Regions from separate parts of the Homo sapiens genome. Here regions 1, 2 and 4 are each linked to region 3. The links are contacts of gene promoters, found by promoter capture Hi-C in blood cells and fetal thymus (Javierre and others, 2016). All regions are on one chromosome and are shown on one strand. Each heading gives the region's core, a stretch centred on a gene start or on the middle of the fragment in contact. The rest is flanking DNA. Distances are from core to core; before and after follow the strand shown.

Region 1 (2,706 bases), core at 72-2,571, 240 kb after region 3:
AGTATGATACAGAAACACAACTGGGGTCCTGTGGGTGCCCCCAGGGAAAGGGGCTTCCTTCCAGCTGTGGACCGTGGAAGGGAAGTGGCTTCAAGGAAGTGGTGACAGTTAAGCTGGGAGGCAGTCGTGGCAGGGTCACAGTGGGCAGAGAGAGGTTTTGGATAGAGCAGATGTCACCGATTTTCTTGCTCACAGAAAGAGCAAAGGGGCAGGACCTAGGGGTAGAAGCTGGGTCGGGCATGAGTTGGTTTTTTTCCTTTTCATGTTTTGAATTGGAGAGATTTGCAGATGTTTATTAGTTGAGAGGAAGGAATCAGGAGAGGGAGAGGCTAGAATGCCAGAAAAGCAGGATGAGGGTAGGAGGGAACAGGAGAGCGAGTGGCAGAGGGGTGAAGGTGTTCGGACTGAAGCCTTGGTGTCTGTGCCCTCAGCCTTCTCTAAAACGTCACACCAGGGCTGGGCCCAGTGGCTCACGCCTGTAATCCCAGCACTTTGGGAGGCTGAGGCAGGAGAATTGCTTGAGCCCAGGGGTTCAAGACAAGCTTGGGCAACATAGTGAGACCCCCATCTCTATTAAAAAAGAAAAAATTAGCTAAGCATACCTGTGGTCCCAGCCACATGGGAGGCTGAGGCAAGGGGATCACTTGAGCCCAGGAGTTTGAGGCTGCAGTGAGCTATGATTGCATCACTGAGCTCTAGCCTGGGCGACAGTGAGACTTTGTCTGAAAAAAATAATGAAATGACACACTGGGCCTCTGGAGTAGGTCTGGCATTTTTCAGTGACACAAAAATATGGCTTAATCCCTCTGTGAGTTTTGGAAAGGAAGTCTTTCCATTGGAAGGAAGTCTCTCCATCGGGTGCTTTTTTTCTTTTTTGAGATGGAGTCTTGCTCTGTCGCCCAGGCTGGAGTGCAGTGGTGCAGTCTCGGCTCACTGCCAGCTCCGCCTCCTGGGTTCACGCCATTCTCCTGCCTCAGCCTCCTGAGTAGCTGGGACTACAGGCGCCTGCCACCACGCCCGGCTAATCTTTTGTATTTTTAGCAGATACGAGGTTTCACCGTATTAGCCAGGATGGTCTCCATCTCCTGATCTCGTGATCCGCCTGCCTCGGCCTCCCAAAGTGCTGGGATTACAGGCGTGAGCCACTGCGCCTGGCCACTATTGGGTGCTTTTTCTAACACTTCTCTGATACTTATCTCCCTGTTTAACAAAAGTAGTCTTCAGGTAGTAGCCTAAAGCCACAGCAACACCTGGCTAGGATTTAATAACTCTGGTCTTTTTTGTGTTTTATTTATTTATTTATTTATTTTTGAGACAGAGTCTCGCTCTGTCACCCAGGCTGGAGTGCAGTGGCGCAATCTCGGCTTACTGCAAGCTCCGCCTCCCAGGTTCATGCCATTCTCCTGCCTTAGCCTCCCAAGTAGCTGGGACTACAGGTGCCCGCCACCACGCCCGGCTAATTTTTTGTATTTTTAGTAGAGATGGGGTTTCACCGTGTTAGCCAGGATGGTCTCAATCTCCTGACCTCGTGATCTGTCCACCTTGGCCTCCCAAAGTGCTGGGATTACACCACACTTGGACTTTTGTGTTTATTTTTAAGATTAACATATTTATGTGAAACAATACTGGGGTTTTTTTTTTTGTTTTTTTTTTGAGACGGAGTCTCGCTCTGTCGCCCAGGCTGGAGTGCAGTGGCACGATCTCGGCTCACTGCAAGCTCCACCTCCCAGATTCACGCCATTCTCCTGCCTCAGCCTCCCGAGTATCTGGGACTACAGGCGCCCTCCACCACGCCCAGCTAATTTTTTGTATTTTTTTTTTAGTAGAGACGGGGTTTCACTGTGTTAGCCTGGATGGTCTTGATCTCCTGACCTAGTGATCCACCCACCTCGGCCTCCCAAAGTGCTGGGATTACACGCATGAGCCACCGCGCCCGGCAACAATACTGGTTTTAAGTGCAAAGAGGAGATGATTCAAAGATAAATCATGTTACGCAGATAAGTGAACAGCAAATACTGGAGCTTGGGAATCACTGCCCCAGCCCAGGGCTTCTACAAGGAAAAGCCTTTCAGAGTCATGAGGGCAGGGAGGGAGGCAAGAGAAAGCTTCCCTTGGGAGGCCAAGGGAAGGATCGCTTGAGCTCAGGAGTTCAAAACCAGCCTGGACAACCTTGTCTCTACTAAAAATAAAAAAATAGGCCAGGCACAGTGGCTCACGCCTGTAATCCCAGCACTATGGGAGGCCAAAGTGGGCAGATCACCTGAGGTCAGGATTTCGAGACCAGCCTGGCCAACATGGAGAAACCCTATCTCTACTAAAAATACAAAAAATTAGCCGGGCGTGGTGGCGCATGCCTGTAATCCCAGCTACTCTGGAGGCTGAGGCGGGAGAATCGCTTGAACTTGGGAGATGGTGGTTTCAGTGAGCCAAGATCACACCATTGCACTCCAGCCTGGGCAACAAGAGCGAAACTCTGTCTCAAAAAAAAAAAAAAAGTCAGGTGTGGTGGCATGTGCCTGTAGTCCCAGCTACTCAGGAGGCTGAGGTAGGAGGATGGCTTGAGCCCAGGAGTTTAAGGTTGCAGTGAGCTGTGATCGCAGTACTGCACCCCAGCCTGGGTGACTAAGCAAGACACTGTCTCAAGAAAAAAAAAAAAAAGCTTCCTGGGCCTGCTGCTTCTGACACAGTCTATTGAGTCTCAGAGGC
Region 2 (2,700 bases), core at 165-2,664, 170 kb after region 3:
GATCCAGGTCTTGGGGTGCTCCGACTCTGGATCTCTGGGAAGAGGAATCCCCAACTCTGCTTCCCAAGTAGCTAGAAACTGACTTAGGAGGGGGACAGCGTATAGGGAACACTGAAATGCTGCTGTAAACGATGGCTGGAGTTAGCCTCATCTGAACTCTGTGTTTGAGGGTACACACTCTGAAGTCAGATGATACGGATTCAGATCTGCCTCTATTATATACTATGGGACAAGTGACTTCACTTCTCTGTGCCTTGCTTTTCTCATCTGTCAAGTGGAAATAATAAGAGTACTTACCTCACTAAGTTATTGAAATGATTTTGTAAGATTATGCATGTAGTGCTCTGAGAATATTCACCTAGCTCAATGTTAGCTTTTTTTTTTGAGACTGAGTCTCACTCTGTCGCCCAGGCTGGAGTGCAGTGGTACGATCTTGGCTCACTGCAACCTTCACCTCCCGGGTTCCAGTGATTCTCCTGCCTCAGCCTCCTGAGTAGCTGGGACTACAGGCAGGCACCACCACACCTGGCTTATTTTTGCATTTTTAGTAGAGACAGGGTTTCACCATGTTGGCCAGGCTGGTCTTGAACTCCTGACCTCAGGTGATCTGCCTACCTTGGCCTCCCAAAGTGCTGGGATTACAGGTGTGAGCCATCGCACCCGGCCACTATTTTGTTTTATAGGGTCCAGAATTACTCAGATAATTGCTTGGATTTAGGGTTGAGATTCTCACCTAAGTTGAGTGAGACCAGATGGACCCTAATCATCCTGTCTGGAGGTGCTTAGCCTCAAGTTTGGGTCAAGTTGAATTGCACAGCTGTGAGAGAGGTGGACTGAGTTAAATCGGTGTTGAACAAGAGCATGGCAGGACCTGGTTGTTTTGCTTATCTTCTATATGCTATAATTTCAAAAATTAAGGTATAAAATTAAGCTCTCTCTGGAAAAGGATATTCGTGTTATTGGAATGGGTTCTGAATTTAATGGTCAGTTAAAGCCCACAGGGAAAGAATAAGATGAGGAATAGGGTCTGAGGGAGGAGGCAGAGTTCTGATGAAGATGATGGCAAGAGGTGGGAAAGTCCTTGGCCAGGAAGGGGAGAGAGGGAGTCATGGTGAATACCCTGCGGCTGTGCTCCAGGAAAGTGGTCAGTCCTGAGAGCAGGTGGCGGCCTGACATTCCAGAAACATGGGACCCTATATGCAGGTAATCCCAGCCAGCCTAGAGACTCTGGTGCCCACAGGTGGAATAGGGCAGAAGTCATGGAGTGTAAGGGACCCCTGTGGGCTTGGAAAGTGATGCCAGTAGCAACCAAGATGAACTAGAGATCAGACTCTCCTCACCACCAGCACGCACGTTCACACACACCCTCATTCTCCAGGCAGGCAGCACTTCCTGAACTGCGGTGTGCCGTTGAGAGAGGGTGAAAGCCCCAGTGGCAAATGAGATGGGATTTCTGTTTAGAGTCATAAATTGTTTCATAGAAATATTTGAATATTTGTTAGAAGAGGTACCCAAAACAACTCAGGCAGCCTGGTGCCCGCATGTTTTGGGTAGTGGCCAGAGTCCCCTCTCAAGCCTGCTAGTCCATTCCCCACCCCCTATCCTACTTCCAGACTTGGTAAGTAGGTAGTTTTGGCAATCAGACAGACTTGGTTAAGCCTAGCTTCTGTCACTAGCTGTGTGACACTGGACAAGTAATTGTACCTGACTTCTCTGAACCTGTTTCTTCATCGGTAAAATCATGCACTTCTTTACAGGAGTTGTCAGGAAAATGCAATGAAAGAATAAGGTGAGGGTGGTTTTCAAATGATGACCTGGAGAACCGTAAATCAGACAATCCAGTGTTTGCCAAACTTCATTCACATCCCATCTTCCCAACCTCTGACAAATTTGTGGACCACCTCTACTTCTGTTTACTTAATCTTGTTCTTTAAAAATTATCAACTCACGTTTTGATGGAACTAGGTGTATTCAAAAGGAAACTTTAACCACTGCCATAAATGAGAAATTATCATGTACCCAAGAGTGGTAAAAATAGATACAATAAAACCAAAACAATGCTGTTCAGTTCTAGCTGGCTATGATTATAGGCCAGGGCTCTGAGCTCAAGGAGTTGATTTTGTTAAAAACAACAACAAAAAGGTTATCTCAGTCAAAAAAGGCCACATAAAGCCCTAATATGAAATGTCCAAAATAATCAACTCTATAGAGACAGAAAGTAGATTTGCAGTAGTCTAGAGCTGTAGTGGGAGGAAGGCTTGGGAGTTACTGTTAATGGGTATGGTTTCTTTTAGGGGTAATGAAAATGTTCTAAAATTGACTGTGGTGATATTTGCAAAACTGTGAAGATACTAAGAATCATTGAACTGTACACTTTAAATGGGTGAGTTGTATGGTGTGTGAGTCATCTCTCTCAGTAAAGGTGTTATTTTAAAATACGTATATATGGGCCGGGTGTGATGGCTCAGACCTGTAATCCCAGCATTTGGGGAGGCTGGGGCAGGCAGATCACTTTTGAGCTCAGGAGTTCCAGACCAGCCTGGGCAACATAGCAAAACCCTGTCTCTACTAAAAATACAAAAATTACCCAGGCATGGTAGCAGCAGCCTGTAATCCCAGCTACTCGGGAGGCTGAGGCAGGAGAATCGCTTGAACCTGGGAGGCGGAGGTTGCAGTGAGCCGAGATCGAGTCCCTGCACT
Region 3 (2,700 bases), core at 32-2,531:
GCCCAGGTTCCACTGCTAACTTGCTGCAGCTTACTGGGTGATCTGTAAATAAAAAGGGAGGTGGCGGTGGTCCGAGCTGGCAGCCGCAATGCAGCCCCAGGTAGATCTAGGGGCAAACGGTAAAGGCGCTCCGAGGAAGGGCGAGCGCGCAGCCTCTGGGAGACTACACCTCCCAGGCTGCCTTGCGCACCGTGCTGCACCCTACGCTAGCACGCGAGCCTCCCCGTTCCCCCACCCTCCAGTTACTGTCTCTCGCGAGAAGACGGGCCGCGCCGGCGATAGCGATTCCGAGCGAGTGGTGGTGGTAGTGGTGGTGGTGGCGGCCGAGACGGCGGCGGCCATTTTGGTGAGGCCTCGGGAGCGGCAGCGGCGGTTCGCTGGGAGTAGCGTCTGCCCTTTTTCCCACCCACCGTCCGCATCTGTGTGCTGCGCGAAGAGGCAGTGGAGGCAAGGCGGTGGCAGTAGCCGCAGTCTCCAGGGGAGTTTAAAGGCCGCGAAGGCGGTGGCCAAGAGGGGGCCCTCCCCCCTCCTAGGCGGGAGGGGGGGTGGTGCGCACGCCCCCGAGGACGCAGGTAAGGAGAGGGAGACAAGATGGCGAACGCCCCACAGTTCCCCCTCCCATGACGGCTGACTGCGCGCGCATCTTTCCGCCACCGCCTCCCCCCCACCTTCCCGGGGTGCTGCGCGCGCACCCTCAGCCGGGGCCCCGGGGCCGGTGCGCGAGGCTGTCGGCGCGCGCCCATAGAGACAGACTGAGGGGGTCAGGCCGGCCGGCGCTGGGCCCCGGCGTGTCTCCTCTCCCTTCCCGCCCTTCTGCGCACGCGTGCCTGAGCGAGCGAGCGAGCGAGCGAGCCCTGAGAGGACGGACCCAGGTGCGCTCCTGCCCGCCCACCAACCCAGTCACCCCTCAGGGGCGCGCGGGAAGAGGAAGGGGGGCGTGGGACGAGTAGTCGGGGCGCGCGCCCACCACATCTAGCCGGGGGACCAGGACCTGGTGGCACGAACCCTCCCTTCTCTCAGCCTTTCGCGGTCGGGTGATGGGGGGGCTCCCTGACGGGCTTGGATGACGAGCTTCCCAGCCCCGCGACCCTTGTGTGCGTGGGCTCGGGTTCTGGCGGGAGCCCCTGGGCCGTGCGCGCAGCCGGCTCGCTCCGCCTCCAGCCGCGCACGCGCGGGCCCCTCCCCCGCCCGGCGCGCACGTTGGGTGGGGTGGGAGTCTGGAGGGGGCGGGGCTATCTCAGGGCTAGTGGCAACTTGGGCAGAGGTCAGGGGTCACGCGAGGTCAGTCCGTCGGGAGGGCTAGGGAGATGGTCACGAAACCTGAAGTCAAGAGTTAAGGCTTGTTGGCTTCTGGTGAGCTCGGGTCTTGGGAACGTGTGGCGGAGTAGGGAGTGAATCAAAGCCGGCACTGTGGTTTAGGAATTTCCTTAAACACTGGGGAAGCATTTCCGGGCCTCCTGCGGGTTCACACTGCCTGTTTCCGGCGCGTGGTTCTTGGCAGTGCGGCCTCTCGCTTTTGACTGCTCCTGAGTCTCCTTTTGCTGTGGTTCTTGTATTTGGGGAAGTGTCTCAAGGCGCAGGTATGGGATATACAGCGCCCTGCCCTGAATCCTGGGCGGATTTTCCTGTGACCAGCCTGTTTGTTGACTCTTCCCGGGAGTTCCACTCTCACTTCTGCGTTCAGCCCTCACTGGAAAGGCCCGCAGGCAGGTAGCACCTTTCTGAGGTTCTGGATGTGACAGCTTTTTTTTGCTGTATTTTTTTTTTGTCTTCCATTCTGTGGTTGGAGCCTTTACACTTAAAATTTTTGAACTTTCTTTCTTCACTCCTTTCCTGCTCCTGCCCCCAGGCAGGATCGTATGTCCCTCCGGAATTCACAAAACATGATTTGCATTTCCCTGAAATGTGAGATTTTCCTACTACTGTAGTTTTTCTGTTTCTAGTCTTTTAACTGATTTGGGTATATTTAAACGTCTCAAAAAACTGGAGTAAATAATACGCTTTGATGGATGTTTCAGGTGTGATTCCCTTCAGTACGGCGGCACCGTGGAAGTGCAGACTTTCACAGGGGGTGTGGTCTCAGCTCACACAGGTGAGGGATCTGCTACCATTTTGTGTGCTGATGCTAATGGGAGAAATGTTTGAGATAAAGCAATTATAGGTCCGTATTGGGGATTTTCACTCTAGAGAAGCATGGGAATGTTTGCATGTGATTTTTCTGTAGAGGGTTTGATTATAGTACAACAACAGAACTGAGGCTGTGGGTTGAGGAAAACGTGGTCAACCTGGCTCTACCAGGAAGAGTAGCAGGTTTTCCTTGGTTTTGGCATCAGACTGTGGATTGAAGCCCTCCTATCACTTTTTTACTGTGTAACCTTCCGCAAATCATAAGGTCTTAACTTCGTAACTTACAAAACAGATTATATTAGAATGTAAGCTACATTTAGGTCGGGAATCCTTTCTGCATGGCTATATCCGTTGTGTGTAGGAGGAAGTCAATATTTGTTATGCTGTGAAAAGCACTTGGTTTTTAAGGTAGGTGTGAGGATTATAGAACACATCAAACAGGTACTAAAAGTATCTTATACATAGTAAGTGCTCAAGAAATGTAACCTGTAATTTCTGTGTTTCTCTTTATTCAGTGTTATTTCTGGTTTTTTAAAAATACTTTTTCATCCCCTTTAACTGCATTTCTGTCTT
Region 4 (2,700 bases), core at 108-2,607, 140 kb before region 3:
GTAGTCCCAGCTACTGGGGAGGCTGAGGCGGGAGAATGGCGTCAACCAGGGAGGCGGAGCTTGCACTGAGCCGAGATGGCGCCACTGCACTCCAGCCTGCGCGACAGAGGAAGACTCTGTCTCAAAAAAAAAAAAAAAAATTAAGCAGGCTTGGTGGCGGGCGCCTGTAATCCCAGCTACTTGGGAGGTTGATACAGGAGAATTACTTGAACCTGGGAGTGGGAGGTTGCAGTGAACTGAGATGGCACCACTGCACTCCAGCCTGGGCAACGGAGTAAAACTCTGTCTAAAAAAAAAAATTACCCAGGCTTCGTGGCGAGCACCTGTACAGTCTTAGCTACTCTGGAGGCCCAGGTGGAAGGACTGCTTAAGCCCGGGAGTTCCAGGCTACAGTGAGCTATGATGCCGCCACTGCACTCAGCCTAGACAACAAAGCGAGACCCTGTCTCTAAAACAAAAACACCAAAAAAAGCCCCCAGAGTGTAGTGACCACGCAGAGGTGAGGACTCAGAGGCGGGTATGGCAGGGCCAGAGCCCCCATCACAGCTCCTTTCTAGGCTGCATCTGGGAGCCACGCAGGGGCTCAGCCTCGTCGTCGCAGTTGAGAAGGCAGTTCAGAGAGGAAACTGCTAAGCAGGTAGCTGGAGGTGGCAGAGGGTACCGGGATGGGACAGGAACAGAGAAGTCCCCATGGGACTGAGCACCCGATACTCCACCTGGGTCCGTTTGTGTCTGACATTTCGCCACCTCCGGATCCTGGGCAGCCGGACCCCACAGTTCGGCCTCCTCCTCCACCCAGGAGATGAGAGCTGGCTTGTTGCCTCCGATTCCTAGGGAAGAAGAACGCAAACCCCACGCTGCGGGGAGGCCACCTGCCCGGCCCCGGGGCCCCCAACTTCACGCGCAGCTCCCAGAGGCGCGGCAGGGCCTGTGGGGGCGCAGGGCTCAGGCGAGCAGGTGGGGCTCTCACCGAGAGCGCTCAGGTGGCCGTAGGTCTCCCGCATCACGTCCCGGTACAGGGCCCTCTGCGCTGGCCGCAAGCAGCCCCACTCCTCCCGGCAGAAGTACACGGCCACGTCCGCGAAGCTCACAGCCCCCGGCTCCCTCCACTCGGGTCCGGCCCCGTTTGGGTCCCGGGGAGGGAGCGGGGCCAGAGGCGGCGCCATGGTAACTGTCAACCCCGACGACGGATCGGCTGCCTCCCCTGGCCTGGCCTGGGCCTGCGGAACCTCCTGCGCCCGAGAAAGCCTCCCCGGCCCGGGCCCAAGGGAAGGAGGGAGGTTACTAGGGCCCCCGAGGGCGCACTAGAGGGCGTGGAAACTAACGGTGCCGATGGCAGCGGGTGTATAATCAGAAATGGAATATGCCCTCATAAAAAATGGCGGCGGCGCGGGTACTCGACCTTTGCCCCTACGCAGTCGTGCCCAAGACAACGCCCCCGGTATCTCCAGTCCGCGTTCTCTCCGTACCCTCATCCAAAATGGCCGCGGTGACTAATACAGAGGCCGGCCTTGAAAACTAGCCGCGCATGTTTAGTCCCCGGCCCGGCGAGGCGGTGCAGCAGAGAGCTCCGCCCCGGCCCGGCGAGGCGGTGCAGCAGAGAGCTCCGCCCCGGTTTGCACGAACAAAAGAGCGCCTCGCGGGAGTGAGCTGGCCTCCCGGCCTTACTGAACTCAGGCATTAGTTTTCGTTTGTGGACCGTTTTATAATCGGGCTCCAGCTCATCACTCTCTCGTTTTGTCCTTGTTATCTCAGAAACAGGGCAACAGCAGTCTCTTCCCAATGTTGAGTGTAAAAAAACCAATGGAGTGGGCGTGGCGCAGTGGCTCACGCTTGTAATCAGCAGTTTGGGAGGCCGAGGCCAGCGGAACAACTGAGGTCAGAAGTTCGAGACCAGCCTCACCAACATGGTGAAACCCCGTCTCCACTAAAAACACACAAAAAAACAGCCAGGTGTGGTGGCGTGCACCTGTAATCCCAGCTACTGGGGAGGCTGAGGCAGGAGTATCGCTTGAACGCGCGAGGCGGAGTTTGCAGTGAGCCGAGATTGCCTCACCGCACTCCAGCCTGGGCGACAGAGCGAAACTCTGTCTCAAAAATAAAAAAGAAAGAAAGAAAGAAAAAGGAGTGGATACAGGAGAACCTCCTCCATCGTAGGCTTGTTGGGGCCTGAAATTCTGGAAGTTTCTAGATGGCGGAGGCAGTGGGGAGAGTAGGGTAAGGTTGAGAAAGTCAGAGGGTCCTCTCTTCTAGGAGCTTCTCCCATGTGCTGCTCAGGACGCCTCCCAATTGCCAGTCTCCCTGTAGCTGCAGCCGGGCTCTCACCTCCCCTCACATCCTGCCCCTGGACAGATGGCCCAAGGCTCCTCTACTCAAATCCAACTCATCCCTTTCTTGCCCCAATCTGCTTCCCCTAGGGTCTTTATCTAGTAAATGTCACCAACTCTCCCCCAGACCTCTCTCTCACTTTCTGATGGTCTATTCTGTGCTCCACGTGACTTCATACATGTCCTGTTGTAGCAGGACAAGCCACAGACAAAACCCCTCAGACACCGAGTTGAAGGAAGGGTTTTATTCGGCTGGGAGCATCGGCAAGACTCACATCTCAAAAACCGACTCCCCGAGTGAGCAATCCCTGTCCCTTTTAAGGGCTCACAACTCTAAGGGGGTCCCCGTGAGAGGGTCGTGATCCATTGAACA

Evidence for each region. The method cuts DNA at HindIII sites, captures the fragments that hold promoters and counts their contacts. A CHiCAGO score of 5 or more calls a contact.
Region 1: a contact is called between a fragment that was not itself captured here and the fragment with the promoter of SRCAP in region 3, in 1 of 17 cell types (erythroblasts). The highest score is 5.6, in erythroblasts.
Region 2: a contact is called between a fragment that was not itself captured here and the fragment with the promoter of SRCAP in region 3, in 2 of 17 cell types (erythroblasts and megakaryocytes). The highest score is 5.9, in erythroblasts.
Region 4: the fragment with the promoter of ZNF764 here is called in contact with the fragment with the promoter of SRCAP in region 3 in 4 of 17 cell types (fetal thymus, total B cells, monocytes and 1 more); the score reaches 6.1 in fetal thymus.

The regions. Positions count from the first base shown.
Region 1 is chr16:30,937,779-30,940,484 of GRCh38, forward strand. The region is part of intron 7 of FBXL19 (F-box and leucine rich repeat protein 19); the gene reads left to right. Among named protein-coding and RNA genes, the nearest start is that of ORAI3, 9.9 kb to the right of the region's middle. The HindIII fragment of the contact is 1,563 bases long and covers 541-2,103 here.
Region 2 is chr16:30,871,119-30,873,818 of GRCh38, forward strand. It overlaps a transcript of BCL7C not described here. Among named protein-coding and RNA genes, the nearest start is that of MIR4519, 2.9 kb to the right of the region's middle. The HindIII fragment of the contact is 4,374 bases long and covers 1-2,700 here.
Region 3 is chr16:30,697,890-30,700,589 of GRCh38, forward strand. It overlaps SRCAP (Snf2 related CREBBP activator protein), which reads left to right and starts at 1,282. Exons shown (of 34, transcript NM_006662.3): 1 at 1,282-1,353; 2 at 2,019-2,092. It overlaps LOC730183 (a long non-coding RNA gene), which reads right to left and starts at 1,171. Exons shown (of 2, transcript NR_144637.2): 1 at 992-1,171; 2 at 1-42. RefSeq lists enhancers at 93-182, 213-402, 1,059-1,353 and silencers at 523-932, 1,073-1,302. The HindIII fragment of the contact is 7,629 bases long and covers 1-2,700 here.
Region 4 is chr16:30,557,017-30,559,716 of GRCh38, forward strand. It overlaps ZNF764 (zinc finger protein 764), which reads right to left and starts at 1,358. Exons shown (of 3, transcript NM_001172679.2): 1 at 971-1,358; 2 at 717-830. The coding sequence starts at 1,166. RefSeq lists enhancers at 246-807, 1,348-1,487. The HindIII fragment of the contact is 20,167 bases long and covers 1-2,700 here.